6 separate regions of the Homo sapiens genome follow, and all the other regions are linked to region 1. The links are contacts of gene promoters, found by promoter capture Hi-C in blood cells and fetal thymus (Javierre and others, 2016). All regions are on one chromosome and are shown on one strand. Each heading gives the region's core, a stretch centred on a gene start or on the middle of the fragment in contact. The rest is flanking DNA. Distances are from core to core; before and after follow the strand shown. Region 1 holds the start of ZBTB39 (zinc finger and BTB domain containing 39). Region 2 overlaps HSD17B6 (hydroxysteroid 17-beta dehydrogenase 6). Region 3 has its middle 40 kb from the start of HSD17B6. Region 4 overlaps LRP1 (LDL receptor related protein 1). Region 5 overlaps LRP1 (LDL receptor related protein 1). Region 6 has its middle 69 kb from the start of SDR9C7.

Evidence for each region. Contacts are between HindIII fragments. The CHiCAGO score rates a contact against its expected background, and 5 or more counts as called.
Region 2: a contact is called between a fragment that was not itself captured here and the fragment with the promoter of ZBTB39 in region 1, in 5 of 17 cell types (M0 macrophages, M2 macrophages, M1 macrophages and 2 more). The highest score is 9.0, in M0 macrophages.
Region 3: a contact is called between a fragment that was not itself captured here and the fragment with the promoter of ZBTB39 in region 1, in 6 of 17 cell types (M2 macrophages, M1 macrophages, M0 macrophages and 3 more). The highest score is 18.3, in M2 macrophages.
Region 4: a contact is called between a fragment that was not itself captured here and the fragment with the promoter of ZBTB39 in region 1, in 6 of 17 cell types (erythroblasts, activated CD4 T cells, endothelial precursors and 3 more). The highest score is 7.5, in erythroblasts.
Region 5: a contact is called between a fragment that was not itself captured here and the fragment with the promoter of ZBTB39 in region 1, in 1 of 17 cell types (erythroblasts). The highest score is 5.7, in erythroblasts.
Region 6: a contact is called between a fragment that was not itself captured here and the fragment with the promoter of ZBTB39 in region 1, in 2 of 17 cell types (M2 macrophages and M0 macrophages). The highest score is 6.6, in M2 macrophages.

The regions. Positions count from the first base shown.
Region 1 is chr12:57,004,096-57,008,281 of GRCh38, forward strand. ZBTB39 (zinc finger and BTB domain containing 39) reads right to left here and starts at 2,451. Exons shown (of 2, transcript NM_014830.3): 1 at 2,310-2,451; 2 at 1-866. The coding sequence starts at 822. RefSeq lists silencers at 2,120-2,269, 2,290-2,649. The HindIII fragment of the contact is 1,523 bases long and covers 1,210-2,732 here.
Region 2 is chr12:56,784,089-56,788,274 of GRCh38, forward strand. It overlaps HSD17B6 (hydroxysteroid 17-beta dehydrogenase 6), which reads left to right. Exons shown (of 5, transcript NM_003725.4): 4 at 765-928; 5 at 3,037-3,702. The coding sequence ends at 3,254. Among named protein-coding and RNA genes, the nearest start is that of HSD17B6, 23 kb to the left of the region's middle. The HindIII fragment of the contact is 2,491 bases long and covers 932-3,422 here.
Region 3 is chr12:56,801,571-56,805,756 of GRCh38, forward strand. No RefSeq gene overlaps it. Among named protein-coding and RNA genes, the nearest start is that of HSD17B6, 40 kb to the left of the region's middle. RefSeq lists an enhancer at 3,100-3,749. The HindIII fragment of the contact is 4,063 bases long and covers 195-4,186 here.
Region 4 is chr12:57,185,870-57,190,055 of GRCh38, forward strand. It overlaps LRP1 (LDL receptor related protein 1), which reads left to right. Exons shown (of 89, transcript NM_002332.3): 41 at 1-39; 42 at 1,398-1,587. Among named protein-coding and RNA genes, the nearest start is that of MIR1228, 6.5 kb to the right of the region's middle. The HindIII fragment of the contact is 162 bases long and covers 1,749-1,910 here.
Region 5 is chr12:57,167,704-57,171,889 of GRCh38, forward strand. It overlaps LRP1 (LDL receptor related protein 1), which reads left to right. Exons shown (of 89, transcript NM_002332.3): 20 at 1,437-1,604. Among named protein-coding and RNA genes, the nearest start is that of LRP1-AS, 22 kb to the left of the region's middle. The HindIII fragment of the contact is 1,373 bases long and covers 1,042-2,414 here.
Region 6 is chr12:56,863,753-56,867,938 of GRCh38, forward strand. No RefSeq gene overlaps it. Among named protein-coding and RNA genes, the nearest start is that of SDR9C7, 69 kb to the right of the region's middle. The HindIII fragment of the contact is 2,184 bases long and covers 706-2,889 here.

The DNA.
Region 1 (4,186 bases), core at 1,201-3,700:
GTTGGTCCCAGTGGTAATGTCTACTGCATTGTCAGGGGTGAGGAAGCTGTTTTTACTGAAGTCTCCATTGCTTTGAACTTTGTATGGCTGGCAGGAGCTCGTGCTGGTCTGGATGCCCGTGCTGACAGTGCCTAGGAGTGGCTGGGTCATCATGCTAGGAATGGACGTGAAGGGAGCAGGGGTGTCATGGTCTTCTGTCTTTGGCGGTGGTGGGGGCGGTTGCGGCAGATGCAGGCTATGGTTAGCGTCACTGGCAACATTCTTCTCTTCCTCTTTATAGCTCCCTCCAGCATCACTGGGCAACACATAGTTTCTATCAGCACCAAGGTAGTCCCCACCACCTCGGAGTTCTCCAAGGGGATGGGCAGGTTCTGCCGAAGGACAACTCAGGGTACCAGAGTGGCTCTCACTGGTGCTGGTCAGGGGCTTGGCCCTGGCAGTGCTCTCCAGATCAGGAAAGGTAGAGTGACAGGCCTGGAGGAGGTCCTCCATACCCAGACGCTCAGCTACCTCGTAGATGACCCCAACATTGATCAGGTCTGTGAAGAGTTCTGAAGTGTAGACAAAGCTCAGAACCTTCTCAAAGTTGGCAGGGGTGATGAAGTCCACCACATAGGTCCTGGCAGCATCAAGCCCAGTATTCAGGAAGAGGTTCTGGAAGTAGCCAGCTGCACAGGCCAGCACAGCCTTGTGGGCCGGGAAGGAGCGGCTCCCCACCACAATGGTGACGTCGCACATGGTCTCTGAGAGCCGGCACTTGTTGAGTTCCTTCAGCAGGTTGTTGGGGTGGTTGGTGCTTTGCAGTTTGATCCTCATGCCCATCTTAGCAGCTCCTATGAAATTACCTCCTTATCAGCACAGTTAATCTGTGGATAGCAAGAGAAAAAGATGGATGGCCAAACACATCCGTGCAAAAGAGGGGCTATGCAGGAGAAAATACCATCACTCTGAATGCTTCCAAGCCCCAGGTAGGGATCAGGAGTAAACTGGCATGGAGAGTTCCTCCATTATGACAAGGCAATGACATCTCCCCCTGTATATACTCAAAGAGTTATGACAAAAACCAAAACGACTGATGACAATCTGATAGCTTGGTTTTAAGCTGGTGCCTAGAGACGAACCAGAGGCATTCCCTTGGACACAATCTTATACTTCATTACCAGAGCCACTGGATCAAATTTTTCTCCTATTAATTTCCTCCCAAATACAAGCTTTCCTAATTCATTGAGCATATTCTTTTCCCTCATGATGCCAAATACCATGCACATGCTTGAACACAACTATCAAAGCTCCACTAGCTACTGAGGAACATATAAGGTGGTTCCGTTTTTTAGCTTTGTCATTGCTGTGTCTTCAACCTCTCAATAATCTCCAAATAAATCTCACGTTCTTGAATCCCCATCTCTCTCTGCCTATACTACATACCCGCTCTCTGGCCTTTCGATAACCCAGAGCCCCTCCAGATATTGCTTTATCACAGTCCCTGTATTCTGTGAAGTTAAAACACTCAGAATGCACAGTAAGAAAAGTAGAACACAACTGTGGTAGTATTTAATATTACTTTAATATGTTGTATTCTTTTTCGCCACCCTTTTCGGGGTTTATATTTTGTTGTCCCTGCACTAACAGATTTACTTGATGCCGCAAGAAAGACTTCTAATTATACAGGTAAGACTCCTAGAGGCTTGTTCACTACCACTTTCTGCCCTTTCTGACTCCTGCACGACTAAGGAAGAAGAGCTACTTGCATCCCTGTTCAGTCTCACAACTCTGCCCAACACAGCCCCTTTCTCCATCTCTCCAGATTCTAACAACTCCCAACTTTTTCTGGGGCCCAGGAAGCGTCTAAGTATTGTGGGGTACCGGCCAAGCATCTCCCGGGCCCTGGTGGCCACCCCTGAACGATGGGCGGGTCGGAGCACTGGGCAGCCAGAGGAGAGGGTGGGAGAGGGGGAAGCTGGGAACTTCCAAGGACACCCCAACAATCCCCGGGCGCCGCGGTCTCCCCTCCGGAGTCGCATCTGGGAGGGAAGGGCGCTGCATCGGCTGGGGCGCTCCCTCTGGAGGCAACGAGCGCCTCAGTCCCTCCACAAACAGCGCGGGGCTCACCCGGGTGAGCCTGTTGGGGGCATGGGGCTGAATAAGGGGCCAAGCGAGGGGCGGCGGGGCCGGCCGGGGTCGGCGCGCGGGCGGGGAGGATGGGTCCGGCCGAAGGGAGCGGGCAAGAGGGACCCCAGCAAGAGCGAGATAAATGCCGGGCCGAAGGTCGGGCTTCGGCCAGGGGCAGCCCTCGGCCTGGCCGCGCTTACCCGGCTCTGCGGCGCCCCGAGCACCATCGCCGCCGCCGCTTCACACAAAGGCCCCGGCCCGCCGTGCCCGGCCCGACGAGGAGGCGGCGCCGCCGGCCGCGGCCAGACTCTCCATCCGCCGCGCGGCTCGCCGCGACGGCCCGGGCCGCCCCCGCCGCCCGGCCCGCAGCGCCCCCCGCCGTCCCGGAGGAGGCAGCGCCCCCCGCCGCCCGGCCGCAGCGCCCCCCGCCGCCCGGGAGGAGGCAGCGCCCCCCCACGGCGGGGCCGGGTCCAGGACCTGCGCGAGGGGTGCAGGGGCTTCCAAGTCCCCAGGCTGGCTTTTTCTAAGCGCCCATCCACTGTGCGCGGGACTTGGTGCCTGAAGAGTGAAAAACCCTATCCAAACTCTCTTCACCTCCCCTGTTCTACGCTCACAGTTCCAAAAGCTTCTCCTCAGAACATCTACTATGGGCATTTTACAAAATGTTGTAAGATTGTTTGATTACTATATATCTCCTCCACTAGGCTGTGGGCTTCCTGAAGGCAGGGATCTGTGGCTTTGCACACGGCCGCAGGTCCACACTGACCCTTACCACACTTCCTGGCACAATAAGTGCTTAATACATTAAGCCTGCTTGAATGAATGAAGGAGCACTTGAGGGCTAGACCGCTACTACTGGACCCTTCTGATAATCCACTGCTGTCCCTCCTTCCATCTAGGTGGCCAAATGAAGAAAGTCACCGGATCTCACTGTACTTTGGCACCCCAGGCCTGCTTCCTGAAGCCTGCCCTCCCCAACTCTGTGTAGAACTCGATCACTCTTCCTCCCCACCCTTCTCCCAAATCATCTTTTCAAATGCTTCTGCCCAAGAATTGTCATCAAACGAAAACCACCTACACTGCCTGCCCCACCCACCACCACCAAAGACATTAGAAGTCTTCGTCATGTCGCCCTCCCTCCCTCAGTACAGAGGAAGCTCTTAGGCTCCAAGACCCTTCAGTTTCATCCTCTCTCCCATCCCATCCCAGTCACTGCCTGAAAATAGCTTGCAGCCAAGGACAAACTCCCAGGACAGGCGCATGGTAGGATTCAGTAATTCCTTGATGGATAAGTGGAAAGGAAGGGACACACTGAATGTTGCCAACAGATCTAAGCCAGTTTGGCCATTCAGCAATTGTCCATTCTCTTGATGAATTTGGGAGATTGTGTGTCCTCCTTTCCACAACCTCATTAACTGGTGGCAGACTATACTGAAAGCAAGCACTATACCAAATGCTGCCAAACATGTAACATTTGTTAGCCAGGAGATACAAAAACAGCCATAGAACTGTTCTTATAGTTTGGGGATGAGGCATCTCACTTTACCATCTAGTGAAAGGGTCACTTAGAGGTTGACACAATGTTTCAGTGGCAGGCCCAGCTCTCACAGTTGTGCAAGGTGACTGAGTCTCCCTAAAGTGGAATATCACACAGCCAGCAGGTCCAGACCTCCAGCATGACTCTGGAGACAGAGGGCTGCTGGGCTTGCAAGGGCCTGGGCCTATACAGTCTTTCTAACCAACTGCCCCAGCCATCTCTGGAGGGTTGACCCCAATAAACTTCACATGAAAACAAATCATCCAAAAGACGCAGGTGAAAGTATATACCACTTATACTGAAGTCTTTTTAAAGTAAATCACCATATAGTCACAATAACAAACATATACAAAGTTAAATGGAGAAGAAAGGGCCAGGAATTTAGTCAAGGTCTTGTGGACCAGATCTCTTTAGGCATCAACTGTTTTACAACAGGAAAGGGAGGGTCAGGATCCCTTCACACATTCTTCAAGTACAAACACAGGAATCTAACTTAACATTTGTCTTCATTTTTTTCTGGAGTCCCCAGTACTGCAATTT
Region 2 (4,186 bases), core at 927-3,426, 220 kb before region 1:
CAGAGACGCTCCTCACTTCCTAGATGGGATGGCGGCCGGGAAGAGGTGCTCCTCACTTCCTAGATGGGATGGCGGCTGGGCAGAGACGCTCCTCACTTTCCAGACTGGGCAGCCAGGCAGAGGGGCTCCTCACATCCCAGATGATGGGTGGCCAGGCAGAGACGCTCCTCACTTCCCAGACGGGGTGGCAGCCGGGCAGAGGCTGCAATCTCGGCATTTTGGGAGGCCAAGGCAGGCGGCTGGGAGGTGGAGGTTGTAGCGAGCCGAGATCACGCCACTGCACTCCAGCCTGGGCACCATTGAGCACTGAGTGAACGAGACTCCGTCTGCAATCCCGGCACCTTGGGAGGCCAAGGCTGGCGGATCACTCGCGGTTAGGAGCTGGAGACCGGCCCGGCCAACACAGTGAAACCCCGTCTCCACCAAAAAAATACGAAAACCAGTCAGGCATGGTGGTGCATGCCTGCAATCGCAGGCACTTGGCAGGCTGAGGCAGGAGAATCAGGCAGGGAGGTTGCAGTGAGCCGAGATGGCAGCAGTACAGTCCAGCTTCCGCTCGGCATCAGAGGGAGACCATGGAAAGAGAGGGAGAGGGAGACCGTGGGGAGAGGGAGACGAGGGAGAGGGAGAGGGAGAGGGAGATTTCTTTATTCTTTAAAATATTCAGTAAAGGTATTTTATAATCTTTTTTGTTTTGCTTTTCCTTCCTGAAAGCATTGAAATGGTGGTGGTCTTTAATCATAACTTGTGGGGTTTTATTTCAGGCGTGAGATTCAACATTTTGGGGTGAAAATCAGCATAGTTGAACCTGGCTACTTCAGAACGGGAATGACAAACATGACACAGTCCTTAGAGCGAATGAAGCAAAGTTGGAAAGAAGCCCCCAAGCATATTAAGGAGACCTATGGACAGCAGTATTTTGATGCCCGTAAGCTTTTTTCTTTTGATAGGGATAATGGGTACCCTGTATTAGTCCATTCTCATGCTGCTATGAAGAAATAACTGAGACTGGGTAATTTATAAAGAAAAGAGGTTTAATTGACTCACAGTTCTGCATGGCTGGGGAGTCCTCAGGAAACTTATAATCATGGCAGAAGGCACCTCTTCACAGGATGGCAGGAGAGGGAATGAGTGCAAGCAGAGGAAAGCCCCTTATGAAACCATCAGATCTTGTGAGAACTCACTACTAAAAGAACAGCATATGGGAACCACCCCCATGATTCAGTACCTCCCACCAGGTCCCTCCCACGACATGTGGAGATTATGGGACTATAATTCAAGATGAGTTGGGTGGGGACACAAAGCCAAACCATATCAGTACCCTTGCATGAGAAGGGGAAAAGAGGGTTGGTGGACAATGATTGGCAGATCCTCTCAGGACAAAGCTCCTTAAATAAAGCATTCCCAGAACAGAAGGAAGTCAGGAAGGTCCCAGTGGTCTCATGGTTGGCTTGGTCTGATGACTATCATGGTTGAGGAGGGGGACATATAGGCGGCCTGGGGCCAGGCTCTTCCCTGCCTTGTCCTCTGTGGGCCAGGGCACCTGAGCACTAGGAGGTATTACATACTTAGAGGCATGGACCCTTGAGAGGGTGTGCCCCTTGGTAGCATTGCAGGGCTGGTGTGAGATGTCTGCTCAACTAAAGTGCAGTCTTCATCATTGTTTACCTTTTGATAACAAAGGGCTTGTCCACAAACTATGTGTCTTAATGTGACAGGAGAAAGCATGTAGGTGGGAAGAGGTAAGTCAGTGAGGATAAGTCTTTGCAGAGCCCTATGGGCCATTCCCTGAGGCTATATTTCTCTTGTTCAGGTGATAGGAGCTTTGTGGGAGTGGGATTTGTCAATTTCCTATAAGAATATTATTCTGAAGACCTGGAGGAGGAGGTAGCAGCAGCGGTGAAAAATGGGAATGACTTCTAATAGGTACAGGGTTTCTTTTTGGGATGATGAAAATGTTCTAAATGTAGATTGTGATGATGATTGCACAACTCTGAATATACTAAAAATTATTGATTTGTACACTTTAAATGGCTGAATTTTATGATATATGAATATCTCAATAATGTTAAAAAAATTTCCAGTTGAAAAAGTATATTCCCATATCTGTGTTGTTCTAAACCTATTTAAAAATCCTCTAGTAACAGAATTAAGTTGTGTGTTTTTTTTTTTTTTTTTTGAGACAGAGTCTCGCTCTGTCACCCAGGCTGGAGTGCAGTGGCGTGATCTTGGCTCACTGCAACCTCTGCCTCCCGGGTTCAAGCAATTCTCTTGTCTCAGCTTCCTGAGTAACTGGGACTACAGGCATGCACCACCAAGCCTGGCTAATTTTTGTATTTTTAGTAGACATGGGGTTTCACCATGTTGGCCATGCCGGTCTCGAACTCCTGACCCCAAATTATCCACCCACCTCGGCCTCCCAAAGTGCTGGGATTACAGGCATGAGCCACTGCACCCAGCCATCAGAATTGAGTTTTGAGGCCAGGCGTGGTGCCTCACACCTATAATTCCAGCACTTTGGGAGGCTGATGTGGGAGGATCGCTTGAGCCCAGGAATTCAAGACCAGCCTGGGCAACATAGTGAGACCTTGTGTCTACAAAAAATAAACAAAATTAGCTGGGCATGGGGATGCGAACCTGTAGTCCCAGCTATGTGGGAAGCTGAGGAGGGAGGATCACGAGCCTGGGAGGCAGAGGTTGCAGTGAGCTGAGATTGTACCACTACACTCCAACCTGGGTGACAGAGCAAGACCCTGTCTCAAAAGAAACCCCAAAAAACAACCAAACAAAAAAAGAAAAATGATTGAGTTTTAAAATTAAAATTAAATAAAATCCAAAATTTAGTTTTTATTCCAGTGCATTAGCTATTGTTTAAGTGCTCAATAGCTACATGTGGCTAGTGGCTATCATATTGGGATGCACATTCTAGATCATTCTATTTTGTAGAAATTAGATGTGGTGAGACTTCTGTGACTGCATGATCTTAAAAATATAAGGAATAAGATTGTTGACCACCATTTCTTTTTTTGTATACAGTTTACAATATCATGAAGGAAGGGCTGTTGAATTGTAGCACAAACCTGAACCTGGTCACTGACTGCATGGAACATGCTCTGACATCGGTGCATCCGCGAACTCGATATTCAGCTGGCTGGGATGCTAAATTTTTCTTCATCCCTCTATCTTATTTACCTACATCACTGGCAGACTACATTTTGACTAGATCTTGGCCCAAACCAGCCCAGGCAGTCTAAAGAAAACTGGGTTGGTGCTTCTTGGAATGAAGGCAAAAATCTGAAATTGTTAGTGTCTCAGTAATCCTGATTTAGAACCCAGGCTTTTTGTAACAATGTGTTTTCTTGCCTAAATTCATTTATCTGGCATCATCAGAGTACTAACATGTTTATATTTCAGATATCCAAAGCTTACCACTTTAGGTGATGAATCTTTACTATTTTAGCCCTTTTTTGATGAGACTATTTGTCTAAAGTGAATCATTTGTTCTTGCCTTATTAAACAGAGTAGATGGAAAACAATTTAACCTATTTTGAAGTCATTTCTTTATGAATATGAATAATTGTTCTATGCTTTAATAATCTATTGTGAGGAAACTACTAAGAAATATGTTGGTGTGTTTGTCCTTACTTGAAATGGGTCTGTATTATGGTACTTTTAATAAATATTTGATTTTTCTTTCTCTTCTCTTTTTGTCAGCAGTCTTTTTTCCCCAATATATTTCTTCCTTTTTTAAAAAGAAATTACTTTTTAAATTTTAAATCAAAATAATGTTATACATATATAGCTAAAAATTCAATTAATATTCAAAAGCTTAAAATGAAAAATGGCAATCCTTGCCCTTATCCTCATCCTTCATTGCTGCTCGTCAGAGGCAAATGGTCTCAACTTTTAGCTATTTCTTCTGGTATTTATCTCTGAACTTCTAAATGATATACTGTTATTTTTTATTAATTTTAGCTATTCTCAATTGACTTTCTGTTATGGTGCAAATTTGGCTTTTTTTTACATCACTTTCCTGCCCATTTCCTTTATCCTTATAGTTTGAATATAATTTTATCACATTTCTGGTTAAATGAATAGTGTTTATATAATTAAGTATGTGAATATTATTAACTATTTAATCAAGTATTTTTCTTTTATAGTAACATTTTTTGTTTTTCTTGGAGTT
Region 3 (4,186 bases), core at 976-3,475, 200 kb before region 1:
TACACACATATTACTATACCTTATATAAAACAGTAAAAAGCACTTGTTGAATTAAAAAATAAACTATATATTTTCAATAGGGACTAGTAATTTAAATCTGCTTTTCTATGTTCTCATTGTTACCTAGCAAGAAATGGCTTGCTGCCTGATATGCATAAAAGCCAATACTATTGCACCAGCTTTTGAGAAAACAAAGCTTTATTGCAAATTGACTGGCCACAAGACAGGAGGCAATGTTCAAATTTGTCTTTCAAGCTGGAGTCTGAAGATGGTAATGAGGCATGATCTGATTGGATCTTGCAATGCAGTAATGCCAGGAGGCATGATCTGATTGGATCATGCCATGGGATGATGCCAGGGTTCAATCTGATTGGATCATGGATCATGCCATGAAGTGTCCTCTTGCTTTTTTTTTCTTTTTTTGTTGAGATAGGGTCTTGCTGTGTTGCCTAGGTTGGTCTCAAATTCATGGCCTCAAGAAATCTTCACACCTCGGCCTCCCAAAGCACTGGCATTACAGGTGTGAGCTACTCTGCCTGGCCTGGTGTCGACTTCTTAATTCCATCCCCTTTCCTTGGTTCAGGCATTTAGATGCTGCCCATGGTTGCATTCTTGGTTCACCTGGGCACACTCAGTTTATATAACTTGCAACCTGGGGTCAATAGCAATTGAAAAACAACACATTATTTTATTATACAAAGTGGAACCAGATTGCGCTAATTTTGAGGGTAATGGATATTGCTGGGAAGTTTCTTGTGGCCAAACACTGTTTTAAAGAATTTTTTTCAAGCTGATTATTAACAGGAAGACCTTTTAATCCTGCCAACTGATCTAAGTAAAGTGTAGAATGTTTGGAGGGCATCGGCATTACGAAAGACCTTAGTCCTTGGGAAGAAATGAATAAATGTGTCAATAAAATTTTAACCTAGATACAAGATCTTGTACCTAGTAGTTATTCAATAAATATTTGCTGAATGAAGCAAACACAGAAAATATAAAATTATGTGAAGTGTAAAGTCTGTTTTTCTGATGCTTTGTGAGGGAGAGATTATTTTTAAAATGTATTTATTTATTTTTAACTTTTTAAAAATTAAACTTTTTTTCTTTTCTTTTTTTTGAGACAGGGTCTCATCTTGTCACCCAGACTGGAGTGCAGTGGTGTAGTCTCAGCTCAGTGCTCACTGTAGCCTTGACCTCCCAGGTTCAAGCAATCCCCCTGCTTCAGCCCCCAAAGTTGTTGGAACTACAGGCACACACCACCACACCCGGCAACTTTTTGTATTTTTTGTAGAGATGGGGTTTCACCATGTTACCTAGGCTGGCCCCAAATTCCTGGGCTCAAGCAATTAACTTGCCTGGACCTCCCAAAATGCTAGGATTACAGGCATGAGCTACCATGCCCAGCTTACTTTTAACTTTTATTTTAGTTCAGGCTGGGGTACATGTGCAGGTTTGTTAATACAGGCAAACGCATGTCATGGGTGTTTGGTGTACAGACCATTTTGTTACCCAAGTACACTAAGCATAGTACCTGATAGCTATTTTTCCTGATTCTCTTTCTTCCTCCCTCCTGCGTCCCTCAAGCAGGCCCCAGTGTCTGTTATTCCCCTCTTTGTGCCCATGTGTTCTCATTATTTAGCTCCCACTTATATGTGAGAACATGCAGTATTTGGTTTTCTGTTCCTGTGTTAGTTTGCTAGGGATAATGACTTCCAGCTTCATTCATGTTCCTGCAAAGGACATCATCTCGTTCTTTTTTACAGCTGCATAGAATTTCATGGTGTATATGTACCACATTTTCTTTATCCAGTCCACCATTGATGGGTATTTAGGTGGAATCCATGTCTTTGCTATTGTGAGTAGTGCTGCAGTGAACATTAATGTGCATGTGTCTTTATGGTGGAATGATTTATATTCCTCTGGGTATATACCCAGTAATGAGATTGCTGGGTTGAATGGTAGTTCTGAATTCAGTTCTTTGAGGAATTGCCTTACTGTTTTCCACGATGGTTGAGCTAATTTACATTCCAACCAGCAGTGTATAAGCATTCCTTTTTCTTGGCAACCTCGCCAGCATCTGGTATTTTTTGACTTTTTAATAATAGTCATTCTGACTGGTGTGAGATGGTATCTCATTGTATTATGGGATCTTTGGGGTGTTGTTTTTCTAGCCAGGAACCTCTGTGGCTGGTGGCCCCTGTGCCCGAGTTTTGCTCGGGCCCACTGGGCTTGTTTCACCTACTCAGCCTGGCAGGCTGTGTTTGGCTCACCCTACTGGCCTGGGACCCATGCCTGCCAAGGGTGAGTCAGGCATGGAACAGTGAGGAGTGTGTGAGTGAGTGTGGGATCCGGCCACTGTGCACAGTCAGACGTACCAGCTGCCGCAGTGGGCCGGGCAGCTCCAGGTGCTGGCATGGGCTCTGGCTCTCTGTGAGGCTGCAGCTAGACCAGGCACACTGCAAGCAGCTTCTACGGCTGGCACTGGAGGACACATTGGCACCCAGAAGCTCGGAGATGCCAGGAACCACAGGGCCCCAAAATAGGAGTCACAGCCCTGGTCTGGGGAACTCCCAGGTCTGGGTTCCCCAAAGGGCTGCAGCTCTTCTTTTCTTCTCTTTGCCCACAATGAGGCAAGCAAGGGGCATGTCTCAGCCCTGTTTGTGTTACAGCTCTTTTATCCTTGCCATTCAGTGGGTCCTGAGTTCTTGTCCTGTGACCAGGAAGAATGAGGTAGGCAGAAAAGAGGAGAGTGAGTAAGATGAAGGGGAGCTTTATTGAGTGATAGAACAGCTCAGAGGAAACCTGCAGGGGGCAGCTACTTTCTGCAGCCAGGGTGTCTTGATGAGTGTTCAGCTCCTAGCAGAGAGGGTAGCTCCTCTCTGCTAGGCAATTCATCCTGACAAGTGTTCAGGTATCAGCAGAGAGAGTAGCTTTTGTCTGCAGGCAGGTCATCCCAACATCTGCTCAGCTCTGGCTGAACCCAGGGCTTTTATGGGCCTCAGAGGGGAGGAGGTGAGCACTGATTGTTCCATGGGCAGCCATGGATGGGCCTGGAAAAGACACCACAAGTTTCCACTGCAGTCTATGGGAGCAGCAGCCTGGCCCCCAGCCTTCAGGCCCTCCCTGGCCTGAAGGTGGGGCCTCACGTGGGACCCACTCCCTTCCCCCCAGGAACCTGTCTGCCTCCTGCTGCCATTCATGGCACCCAGGCTGTACGTGCCAAGGGGCACCTGCAGGCCAGTGCCAAACTGCCCTTATCACCCCCTCAGCTTCCCTCCTGTGCTCTTTGGCACCCAAGGTCCAGAGGCGGGCTGAAGTGGCAGGGGGCTGGTGTGTCAACACTTCCCTGAGCATGTACACACCTGGCTGGGCTGTGACAGAGCTCAGGCTTGACCATGACTTTGCTCTTAGATCGGAGTGGGTACCGACAGCAGGGAGAAGCCAGGCGGCAGGAGCAGGCACTTCCAAGCCTGTGAGGGCAGGGGGAGAGGACCATCCTGGGTCTCCAAGAGTGCAGGGATGCCTGGGTTCACAGCCACAGTTTGGGTGTCTGCAGCTGCATCCAGGGGGTGGGGGTCCTGCTCTGTGGAGTGGGAGGTCATGCTCTGCAGTCACGACTTGGGTGGCTGCAGCCACGCCTAGGAGGACAGGGCTCCTCCCTGCTCCCAGCACCCCCAAGAGCACAGGGAGGCCTGGGTCTGCAGCCATGACTTGGGCAGCTTAACCTGTGCCCCAGGGGGTGGGGCTTCTTCTTGCTCTGTGCTTTGGGAGGCCCAGTTTGCAGCCATAACTTGGGCAGACTTGTGTCTGCACCTGGGGAGCTCCCACCCTAACAAATCAGAAGGGGCAGGGCTCCCACTTGTCTGAGGCTCCCACCAGCTGCATGGAGTATACAGCTCTGGCTGTACCTCCCTGCTGCAGCCTGTGTGATGGCAGCGGCCACTCTAGATGGCCCACCACTGCCATCAATCACCACTCTGTAGAGGTACATCTAACTGCCGTTAGGATAGGGACAGTGACCATTCTTAACTGCTTCATGCTGACAGGGGGCATTGTTTTTGGGAAAATGGCAGTCAGGTTTTCTCTCAGGGGCCTATATAAGGGTCTCCAGTAAAAGGGAGCCATTGTCCGAGGCTCCATTTGCATGACCATTGGAGTTTGACGGCCCATCCTTTTTGTTTCTTCT
Region 4 (4,186 bases), core at 580-3,079, 180 kb after region 1:
TCAACGACGATGGCTCCAGGAGGATCACCATTGTGGAAAGTGAGCCCAGACCCTAAGTCTTCCCAGGAAGTGGGACATGGGGCGGGGAGCAGCACAGACTCTTAGACCCCAGCCAGGCACTCTACCCTAGGTCTGAATCCCAGCAGCTACAACTCAGCTGAATCCAACTGCACCCCCGCAGTTACATGACTCCTGATTTGGAGTCAGCGTCAGCCCCCGACTTCCTCCCGCCACTGGTCCTAGTTCTGCCTTCAGAGCTGCACAGAACAAGCGAGAGGTCTCTGTGGAGCCCAACGCTCACAAACCCAGGCTGCAGACATGGGGCTGAGCTCCAGTCACTTGGGCTTTCAATAACTTGGGTCAGTTTCCTGCTCTTGCCAAGCCTGAGCCTTCTCATCTGCGTGGATGAGTGTCTCATCTGAGACAGGATTCCTCGAGCTGCTGCGCAGGAAGGCTTAGCTCAGTGATGCTGGGGACGGAGTGTGTGCTCTGGAAAGAGCAGTTACAGTGTCAGGGCTGTCATCACAGGACAGCCTTTCAGCTCTTTGAAAACTGCATCCTGCTACATTTTCTCTTCTTCAGCCTGGTTACCACCGGGTCCCTTGACTCATTCATTTGCTCATATATTCATTCAGCTGGTCCATAAAGACCTGCCAGGCACCGAACTAGGTGCTACGTATACAGACCTGTCCTTTCAGCCTTTTCTGGGACATTTTCTGCTGCACATAGTCCAGCCTGCATGTCTGTCTAAAAATGTAGCATCCGAAGCTAAACTCGGTACTCCATGCTCGTAGCTTGATCAGGAGAGACTGGCACATCAATCCCCAGACCCCTGGAAGGGATGTCCCCTCACCTCCGGCTGTCTGCAGACCATACCACAGCATGGCCCTTTGGCAGCCACCATCGCTTATAGCCACTAACACTCTAGTCTTTTCTCTTACACTGCTGTTCGGCTGTGTCTCTCACTGTGCCTTGGTTCTTTAACCTGAGTTTAAGATGTCTGCTTTATAAAATAATCAATCCAGCTCAGGGTCTTTTTAAGTAGGGGGCTCCCCAGTACAGCCCAAGCAGGATTTGATTTACAGAAATCTACATTGCACTCAGCTCAGCAGAACTGCAGCTCCAGGAAAGTGCAAACACACCAGAAAGCCCGATTGCCCTCAGTGGGAGAGGGTTGAGAGGTGACCACAGGTCATTTGAGTGAGGACAGCAGAGGTTGGGGGCACTGAGTCAGACCCTGGTGCCCCCGAGCCCTCTCTGCTGCACCTCTTGCACTCCCATACCCCACACTTCGCCTTCCAGCCAGGAGAGCACCTGCCCCAGGCTGTCCCCCACGGCTCCTGTGCAGGCTGCCCTCTGGGCCCTCCTGACAAATCGCTGCTCCTGTCTCTTCACAGACGTGGGCTCCGTGGAAGGCCTGGCCTATCACCGTGGCTGGGACACTCTCTATTGGACAAGCTACACGACATCCACCATCACGCGCCACACAGTGGACCAGACCCGCCCAGGGGCCTTCGAGCGTGAGACCGTCATCACTATGTCTGGAGATGACCACCCACGGGCCTTCGTTTTGGACGAGTGCCAGAAGTGAGCTGCTGCCTGGGGATGGGGGTAGCAGGGAGAGGTGGGACTCGGGGTGGCAGAAACTCCCCAGGCAGATCCAAGCGGGGGTGCAGGAGAGGCAGGCCCTCACTTGAGCTCCACCCTTCCCTGCTGTGTGATCTGGGGAGAGGTGCAAAAGCTTCCTAAGCTTCAGGTTCCTCTTCTGTGATACAAGCTGGCTAAGATTCCAGCTGCCTGCACCAAAGGGAGCATCAGGACTGTGGGGGACGCTCTGCCTTTGTGATTGATTCATTCATCAGAGCACCATGTTGGAGGCACAGGGTAGGGCCTCTAGCTCTGGGATCCAAAGCTTCAGGCAAAGAATGTTTGTCGAACCCTTCGTACAGAAGCCTAAGGCTGGGCCTACCAAGCCACCTAGCTGGGTTGAGAAGTCATACTTGTGGGAAGTAATGGTAACTGGCACAGGGCTGTATACGGGTGACCACAGGTGTCATGAAGGCAGTAGATTGGCCCAGAGCCTGGAACTGGAAAAGACAAGGAAGGCCAGCTCGGACAGGGGAAGTGCTTTGAGCAAAAGCCTGAAGAAAGGCAAATTCAAGGCAGGGAGGACAGAGGGGGACCTCTGCATGCCATAGAGCATAGGCAGGCCTGAGCCCAGCCAGGAAGTGAGGTCAGGGTGCGGAGGAGTTAGGAGCACAAGCCAGGACAGGTGGCAGAAAGCACCCGGGGGTGGGTGCTCCCCCTGGAGGGTTCACCCGCAGTCAGCCTGCTCTGTTCTCCCGCAGGGGCAGCCCTCATCCCGGCTGTTTGGGCCTCTAGTGAGCCACCCCCTCGCCTTAGGGATCCAGGCCCACATGTTAGCAACATTTTTTTCCCAATTCAGCAGTGCTTGGAATGTTTTTCAAAAGCTTTACTAGGAAACTAGTAAACACAACCCAAAGCAGCTGTATAGATACGTGAGTGTCCCGAACCCAGATTCCCCCCACCAGTCCCCCAATGTCAGTCACCTCCAACCTGGCTCAAGGACCCTCTGTTTCCTCCTGCCTCTGTCATCTGGCACATCTGCAGCTGATGATGAAGGTCCAGTCCCCCCTTCCATGACCCTCGGCTGCCTCACCTGTCTGGGGATGGCCTCAGAGCCTGTCCCTCATGAGTCTGGAGCTTCCCTGGAGGGTCCAGCAAGGCTGCCTGGCCCTCGTCCCAGAGGACGTGACCCCCTGGCTGCCCACCAAGCTCCTTTCTTATGAGGCCAGGGGATTCCATCACGCATTCAGCGAGTGGCTTTTGAGGGCAAAGAAGGTGCAGAGGACCCAGTGGGGAGCGCGAGGGGCGTCATGAAGAGCTTCGTGGCTGTGTGCTGAGGACTGGCCCCACCTGGAAGTCAGGGAACGTGTCCTTGAAGAGGCGGCATGTTAGCCAGCGTCTGAGGATGGCAGGAGTGGCTGGGTGGGAGCATGGTCCCAGTGCCCAGGAGAAAGAGCTGAGCTGGCAGGAGGGGCCCTCCCCCTGGCCACAAGGAGCAGGCACTTTCGGGGAATCAGAAGGAGCCAGTGTGGACCCCAGTGGAGAGGGCAGGGGCAAGTGGAGACTCCAACAACCCAGCCTCCTCCTGAGCCCTCCCCGCGTCAGCACTGGAGCACTGATGGCCCTGTAGAGCTCACAGTAGGATAGTTAGAAGGTCCGCCATGTTCCTGGACACTGAGCACCTACCCCAGGAAAGCCTCTCTCTCCCTCCTGCCCCATTCCTGGGAAGCAGGTTCACCCAGACCACAGTTGTGTCACATGGAGGAGTTTGTTGACGCCAGGAGGAAAACCACTTCTCACTGCAGGTGTGAGTAGTTTCACCTGAGGTGTAGGAGTTCCTGGTGGGGACTGACAGGCCAAGTCCAATCCTGACAAGCCAGGAAGATGACTGGCCACTGCCCCAGGATACCCATTTTCCCTTATGGAGGCTAGAAGGACACGCCGCCTCCCTCCCAACTTACATCCCGATTCCAGAGCCACCGCAAACCCCTGCTCTCCTCCAGGATGAGGCCCTTAAGATCAGAGCTTCTCACGAGCTCGCCGAGGCTCAGGGCAGCCAGTGTCTCCAGAGGGGCAGAGCAGCACCATTTTCCTACGTGAGCCCAGCAGAAGGCGGGATAGTTCAATGGTGCTGGAGACGCTGGGGGTGGGCAAGAAGGGTGTGACCTGGAGAGGTCTGAGGAGACAAGTTCACAGGCCAGAGGACAGATCTGTGGCCAGAATGGTGAGGGGCAGAGGTAGGAGGAGGCCAGAGGCACTGGGGTGGGGGCGGGGGCAGGTCCTGTTAGGGAACTGGAGAACGGAGCTGGCTTTTGTGTGGCTTGGTGGTCTCAGACTCCACTGTGCCTAAGGATCGCCTAGGAGCAAGAGAATGTGGAGTCCCCTGCCCCGCCCTGGGCCTAGCTGAGTGACAAGCTCTGGGACCGAGGACCCAGGGCTCACCATCCAATGCCGGTGGTCCAAGGACCACTCTGTCACACCCAGGGTAGTGCATGACCAGCCCTGAGGCCTTCCACAGCCCCCCTCCAGCCTCAGCACCACCCCACAAGGAGCACGGCATAATTGGGGGCTGGCTGTTCCCATTGCCTCCTTTACTGAG
Region 5 (4,186 bases), core at 478-2,977, 160 kb after region 1:
GGACCAAGGGGAGACCATCACCTTTTAGTGTCATTCCTACCCCAGGCAGGGCCTGAGCTGCCCACCCTCTAGTAGGGCTCGGAGGCCAGGGAGAGATGAGTGAGATGGGCCAGAGAGGCAGAGCAAGGAGAAACCGGTGCCTGACTCCTTTCTCCTTGCAAACCCCCATTTCCTGGAGTCCTTGGTGCACCCCTCAGGCTCTGGGCTTCAGGCTCAGAAGCCCACCTGGCAGATAGCCATGGACCAGGTGATGTCAGCCTTGAGCCACCAGGGCTAGTATGTGTGTAAATGTGCGGGCAGGTGACTGCCGTGTGTGGTGTCTCAGGGCTCTGTTCTGTCTGTGTTGTGTTGTGACGTGCTGCCCCAGTGGTTCCTGTCCCAGCTGATGTGTGAGCGGATGTGTTGGGTCAGTGCCACGTTGCCCCTCACTTTTTCTGTGTCTCGCATGCCAATGGTTGCCCCGGCGGTTTCTGTGTTTCAGAGAAGGATTGTGGGGACGGCTCTGACGAACAGACCTGTCCTGAGCCTGCCGGTCAGTGCATAGAAGCACATGCACCATCACCCAGAGCTCAGCTGGCCCCAGCCCCCTGCAGGTTCTCCAGGCCCCTACTCCAGAGCTGCTAGGATATGAAGAAAAAGCAACAGAGAGGAGGGAGAGCAGAAAACAGAGGGAGAAAGCAAATAGTGGTCAGGAAAGAAGCAGAGACGGCAGAGGGAGCCTCTGAGGAAAGGAGATGACAGAGAGGTGGTGACAAAAAGCCCAAGATGCAAGGGGAGGAGAGAGTTAGAGAAGCAAATCCAGTTGGAAAAGAGGCAGGAACATAACCCAAACCCCAGTCTCCACCACATGTCCCATAAATACAGAGGGTCAAGTCAAGCAGCCCCCACCCAATGCTGAGAAAGCAGGAGCTTCCTTCAGCCAGCCTCAGCGAGCTTGGTCCAGAAGTGGCCCCCACTCTTGCCAGCCACAGGCAGGGCCCCTGTAAGCCAGGCACCCAGAGCATGGTATTCAGCAGTGCCAGCCTCAGGGCAGGCCTGTAAAGCTTGTCTCAAGCCGGCCACGCCTGCACCCCACCTACCTCTCTCCCTCCAAAACTAGAGAAACCCCTGCCTTTCCCCCAAAAGCAAGCAGACCCCTGTTCCCACACCTGCCAGAAAGGGGAAATGAAATGTTTAATGTTCCCTGCACCCAGCCTTTCTGAGCTTCAGTGAGGGGCCCTCCAGGAGCCTTCTCCTCCTCCTCATCCTGACCACGTGGGCCATGGTGCATGCTGCAGTCTATGCAGTTTCTGTGTCTTTTCTGTTTGTTATTTTCCCAGTGGGGGGGTTAGGGTGGGCTGAGGGTGGGTTCTGGGCAGGGGGCCCAAGCTGGGATCACAGAGAAGGCTGCTCCACCAACTCCCGCTTTGCCTCTCCCCTTCTTCCCCCACCGCCAGACAATGACTGTGGGGACAACAGTGACGAAGCCGGCTGCAGCCACTCCTGTTCTAGCACCCAGTTCAAGTGCAACAGCGGGCGTTGCATCCCCGAGCACTGGACCTGCGATGGGGACAATGACTGCGGAGACTACAGTGATGAGACACACGCCAACTGCACCAACCAGGGTGGGCACCAGGGGCCCGTGGGGTGGGGATGAGATCGAGCCCCCTGCATCAGACACCCAGCCTATCCATCTGTCTTTCAGACCCACGGTGTGTCGGCCACCATCTGGGAGCCAGAGGTAGCCTAGGCATGGCTCTTGTCCTTCAGGAGCTCCCGGTCCTGTGGGAGAGGGAGGTTGCCGAAAAATCATTGCCACACGCTGTTAATATCATGCGCTTTGCAGTTGGTGGCCTTGGGTTTGAGCTCCAGCTCTGCAGCTTATTATCTGGGTGGCCTTGAGCAAGTTACTTAATCTCCATGGGCCTCTGTGAGTTTCGTCTGCAAAGTGGGGTAATAATAGCACCAACATCACAGCGCTGATGTGGGAGTTTAGTGAGATCACGCACGAAAAGTGCTCAGCACACGGCCTGTGTTTGGTAAATAGTAGCTTGAGAAAAGGATGCTGCAGGCAGGGATGAATGAGCCTGAAGAGACAGAGGAGAGAGGGCCTGGCTCCACAAGGCTCCCAGTGCCCTGGCCTCTGGGGCCCAGCCTCGGGGGCGGTGGGGACCTAGTTTTCTGGAGGGATGGGCCCTCTCAAGGAATGCTGGCTTCCTAGCTCTGGAAGATGTGCAGATTTTTATGTGAAAACTACCAAATTTTTAACACTACAGTATTAGTTTCTCTCGTCTCACAGTTCTGGAGGCTGGAAGTCCCAGACCCAACTGTTGGCAGGGTGGGTTCCTTCTGAGGCCGTGTGGGAGATTCTGTCCCAGGCCTCTCCCCAGCCTCCGCGGTTTGCTGGCAATCTTTGCAGCTCCTTGGCTTGTCGAAGCTTGACCCGATCTCTGCCTTCATCTTCACACGGTGTCCTCCCTGTGGGCATGTCTGTCACCAGATCCCCATTTCCCCTTTCTGTGAGGACACCTGTCATATTGGATTAGGATACACCCTTATGACCTCATCTTAAGTTGACCATCTGCAAAGACACTATTTCCAAATAAAGTCATATTCACAGGTATTATGGGATAGGACTAATATCTTTTTAGGGAACACAATTCAAGCCATACCAACTGGCAGTTGATTTTAGAAGTTTTAAAAGGCTGGGTGCAGGCCAGGCATGGTGGCTCATGCCTATAATCCCAGCACTCTGGGAGGGTGAAGTGGGAGGATCACTTGAGGCCAGGGGTTCAAGACCAACCTGGTTAACATAGGGAGAACCCATCTTGAAAAAAGAAAAGAAAAAAAAAAAAGGCTGGGTGTGTTGACTCACACCTGTAATCCTATCACTTTGGGAGGCAAGGCAGGAGGATCACTTGTTTCCAGGAGTTTAAGACCAGCCTGGGCAACATAGTGAGACCCCTTTCTCTACAAAAAATAAACAAAATTAGCTGGGCATGGAGGCACATGCCTGTAGTCCCAGCTACTCAGAAGGCTGAGGTGAGAGGTTGAGCCCAGGAGGTTGAGGCTGCAGTGAGCTGTGAGCTCGCCACTGCACTCCAGCCTGGGTGACAGAATAAGACCTTGTCTCAAAAGAAAAAAAAAGTTTAAAAAAAACTACAGACCAAACTCTTCCTGCAGGCCTCATCTGACCCATGGACCACTAGATTACAGCCTCTGCCTTATAGAGTTAGGGCACATTCCCACCCTAGTAGGAGAAGACTGGACAGCGTTGAGTGCCCACCTTGAGCCCTGCCCTGAGAGGGAGGACAGAGAAGGCCACAGGAAGCTTGGGAAATAGTAATTGCGTCTCCAGGGCTATCTCTGTGAAGGGGAGGGTGAGGGGCACAGGTGATATCCCTTAGGGTTCTGAGAAGGGGCCTCTGGAGGCTGTGTGGTGTGGTGAGAAGAGCTCCCTGCCGCTCCCAGATAAGCTGGGCAAATTTGGACAAGTTGCTTCCCCTGAGCCTGGGCATCCTCCTTTATGAAATGAGCTGAGGTATGTGAGGCCTGGCGTGGAGGAGCAGGGTGTCACTATTGGTAGCAGTTGTTAACTATGGTATGAGCTGGATGGTCTGGGACCATTCAGGAGGAGTTGTGTTTAGACTGCAGGTAAATGGACAGGAGGGAGGGTCTTCCAGTGGGGATGGCATGGTCCGGAGAATGCTGTCGTCAAGACTTAGAGGGTGAAACTGAGCACTTCCGTAGGGTGACAGTGGGGCCAGGTGGAGCCGTTCAGACCGAGGGAAAGGCTCGTGCAGGGACAGTGGGGAATGAGGCTGTCCTCAAAGGGGGCAGATGATGACAGCAGGTGTAAATCGTGAGAGGCTTGATTTGGGAGGCACTGGGAACCTTTGAAGGATTTCCAAGCCGGAAGGTGCTGTGATGTAGGAGGTGATTTCGGAACACAGCCCTAGAGGAAGATTAGATTGAGAAGAGGTTCAGGGGCCCCAAGAAAGGAAAATCAGTTCAGAGACTGCTGCTGAAAGTCCCGGCATGAGATGAGAGCATCAGCTGGGTCCAGGGTAGGGAAGGGGGAGGAGCGGGGTGTCTGTGGCAGCATGAGTGTATGAGTGTGGGGCTCCACCAGGCAGTGCTCCTGCTCCTCTCCTGGCCTCCTGAGTCAGATCTCAGGACAGCAGCCAGAGTGATCCTGACAACATAA
Region 6 (4,186 bases), core at 548-3,047, 140 kb before region 1:
GCTGAGGAGGTCTCAGATGGGGATGAAGAACTTAATGGAAATTGGAGCAAAGGTGACTTTTATTATACTTTAGCAAAGAGGTTAGAGGCATTGTGTCTCTGCTCTAGAGATCTGTGAAACTTTGAGCTTGGGAGTGATGATTGAGGCCATCTGGTGGAAGAAATTTCTATGCAACAAAGCATTCAAGATGTGGCCTGGCTGCTTCTAGCAGCCTATGCTTATATTCATGAGCAAAGAAATGACATAAAACTGGAACTGGAACTTATATTTAAAAGGGAAGCAGAGCATAAAAGTTTGGAAAATTTGCAGCCTGGCCATGTGGTAGAAAAGAAAACCCCATTTTCAGGGAAGGAATTCAAGTCAGCTACAGAAATTGGCTTAAGAGGAGCCAAATGTTAGTAACCAAGACAATTGGGAAAATGCCTTGAAACCATGACAGAGACCTTCAGAGCAGCCCCTCCCATCACAGGTCCAGAGGCCTAGAATGGAAAAATTGTTTCTTGGGCCAGGCCAAGGGCCCTGCTGCCCTGCACAACCTTGGAACAGTGCTCCCTGCACCCCAGCTGCTCCAGCTCCAGCTATGGTTAAAAGGGCTCCAGATATATCTCAGGCCACTGCTTCAGAGGGTGCAAGCCTTTAAGACTTGGCAGTTTCTTTGTGGTGCTAAGCCTGTGGGTGCGCAGAGGGAAAAAGTTGAGTCTTGGAAGCTTCCACCTAGATTTCAGAGAATTTATGGAAACACCTGGATGTCCAGGCAGAATTCTGATGCAGGGATGGAGCCCTCATGGAGAACCTCTACTAGGACAGTGTGGAGGGGAAATATGAGGTTGGAGCCCCCACATAGAGTTCCCACTGGGGTACTGCATAGTGGAGCTGTGAGAAGAGGGCCACTATCCTCCAGACACCAGAATCGTAGATCCATTGGCAGCTTGTACCATGTACCTGAAAAAGCTGCAGGCACTCAATGCCAGCCCTTGAGAGCAGCCATGGGAGCTGAGCCCTGCAAGCCAGAGGAGCAGTGCTGCCCAAGGCTTTGGGAGCCCACCCCTTGCATCAGTGTAGCCTACATGTGAGACATGGAGCCAAAGGAGATTATTTTGGGGCTTCAAGATTTAATGACTGCCCTACTGGATTTTGGACTTGCATGGGACCTGTAGCCCCTTTGTTTTGGTGATTTATCTCTTTTGGAATGGGTGTATTTATTCAATGTCTGTAGCCCCATTGTATCTTGGAAGTAACTAACTTGTCTTTGATTTTACAGGCTCACAGGTGGAAGGGACTTGCCTTGCCTCAGATGAGGCTTTGGACTGTGGACTCTTGAGTTAATGCTGAAATATGTTAAGATTTTGGGGGACTCTTGAGAAGTGATGATTGTATTTTGTAATGTGAGAAGAGCCTGAGATTTGGGAGGGGCCAAGTGCAGAATGATACAATTTGAATCTGTGTTCCTGCCCAATCTTACATAGAATTGTAATTCATAATGTTGGAGGAGGGGGCCTAATGAGAGGTGATTGGATCATGGGGGCAGATTTCCCCCTTGCTGTTCTCATGATAGTGAGTGAGTTCCCATGAGATCTGGTGGTTTAAAGGTGTATAGCACCTCCCCCTTCACTCTTTTCTTCCTGCTCCTGCATGTAAGATGTGCCTACTTGTCCTTTGCATTCTGCCATGATTGTAAGTTTCCTGAGGCCTTCTCAGCCATACTTCCTGTAACTTTGAGCACCTCAGTTAGCCATGGGGAATTCATTTAGTCTGTTGGCCAGGGGCATACTTTGACATTTCACTCCCTTTGGTTGAAACCTGCCATAGGCAGCATTGACTACCAGTGTTATGTCTTTGTCCCATATTATTGTTGAAGTGATGTGGCTACCTGCTCTGGGTCTGTCTAGTCCCTTGGTGGGACTTCTGTGACTAAGAGCTCATAGCCAATTTGAACAGCCTGGGCCAGGCAAGGTAGAAAGTCAGGTAAGCACCTGTTAATTGTCTAAGAGTGTTCCTTGTTGGAGTTTGGCAGAGGCATCAGGAAATTAGGAGAATTCAGGGTGTAGTCCAGTCTACAGGTAAATAACAAGGATCTGAAAACAATGTACAGATCTACAATATAGTAACAGTTATATAGTTTTTCTTTGGAAACATAAGTTTTTCTTTTTACACTGATTTTATAGGAATCTTAAATTTAAAACCTTTTGAGTTTAGGAAGCCAAATGAAGGCAAACTTTAGATTTCACTTACAATCTTAGTGTCCTTGGGCATGCCTGGAAGTAGCAATTTTGACTCACTTACGGTAAGCCTGGGAACTCTTGAAGCCAGGCATTTTATGTACATTCTTAAATATGACATTTCAGTCAAAACCTTGATATTATAACTGAGAATTCCACTTGTATCCTGCTTATAGAGAGCATGTAAATAAAATAAGAATACTCAAAAATAGTTTCTAAATTTTGGAGATCTCAAGTAGGGAGAAAAAGCAAATGCTTCCACTTTTGTTAACGAAAGGATATTTTACCAAATTATTACAAACTATAAAAAATTATGAAGTAAATTTCCTTGAATCTGAAAAACAAAACATGTAAGACCAAGAATGCTCTAAATAAAAGTCATAAAACATTATCCTTATCAATTACTTAATTTCATGTAATCAATTTTACCTTGCTTGACACTGATCAGCAGTTCCATGAAAAGCAATTTTGGACTATAGCTGATTGACAACACATATCACTATATCTCAGAATTTTATCACATGAAATTTTGAAACACATTTTAATAACACATTTACACATGCAACTTAAAGAAAGTTAAAAATAATTTTTATTTGACAATGCTTCCTAATAATATCTAAAAGATTTAATTTAGGGCTTTGATCCCAGGAAACCTTCCAAAGATGTCACAAGCTTTAAAGTTCAAAGTATCTGATTCAATAGAATCAAAGTTCGCTGCAAGATGATAGTTATTCATTTAACCAGACTGACAATCAAAAGATGTCAAAAACAATAGAAAAAGTTACATGAATGTAAAAACCTTAACCCTTTTAAAGCTCAGTTTTCCTAAGTAATAAAAAACCTAATAAAGATAACTTGAAGCACAGGAAATTATCTTGGTAAAACAGAATCTTTGTTTCCTAGGCCAATTGCCCACAAGGCAAAGAAAAGAAAATCTCTTGCAATGTGATTGCTTTTTCTTTTGGTAAGTTCATTTAGATAACCTGAAAGTTAAACCTGATGAAAAGTGAACTGGCAGAACCAGAAAAATGTTACAGGAGTCAACAAAAAGGTTGAAGGAGAATGTTATCATCCCAACCAAGCAAAAACCATATCTTTTTAGGATAGAAAGAAGTAGAGCTGTATTTCCAACCTGAAACTAGAGAAAGAAGTTAGATAGATTCCAGGGAGAAATGTGGCAGAAATAGAAACTGTTTGTAATTGAGAGGATGGCTGTCAAAGAAACACATTTCAGAATTAATCAAAACCTCCTATAATTTTACTAAGAGCAAATCAACATTCTAAAGAAACCTTGCTATTCTAACACACGGGACAAAATCTGCATCAGTGTGTTTTTCACATCAAAGTTCAATCCCTAGTAAGACCCATAAATAATTTCCCTCCAATTGTAGACAAAGTGATGACACAGAAAATTTCCTCTATAAATGCTATTTTTATAAACCTTATCATGACTTACTCAGACCATTTATGATATGCTTGGACATTCTGCTTTTTCTTACACTTTCTCTTTCTTAAATAACCAATCATTTTACTCTAGGAGAAAAATTTGCCATACAACATTCTTTCTTATACAAAATAATCCTCTTCCTTTTCAACCTTCCTTACCAAAAATACATCATATACTTCTCATATGCTTACATATGGAATGGTCTTTTTCATCTCTAGTAGTTTAATCACACACATTAGTTATAATGTCAACTCTTAGAAACCCTAATTTTCAAAGAAAACCCAGGAAGTTATCAATTTTTCTTTTGAGACAGAGTCTCACTCTATCACCCAGGCTGGAGTGCAGTGGCACAATTTCAGCTCACCTCAACCTCTGCCTCCTGGGTTCAAGCTATTCTCATGTCTCAGCCTCCCAAGTAGCTGGGACTACAGGCACACACCACCACACCTGGCTAATTCTTATATTTTTAGGACAGATGGGGTTTTGCTGTGTTGGCCAGGGTAGTCTCAAACTCCTGACC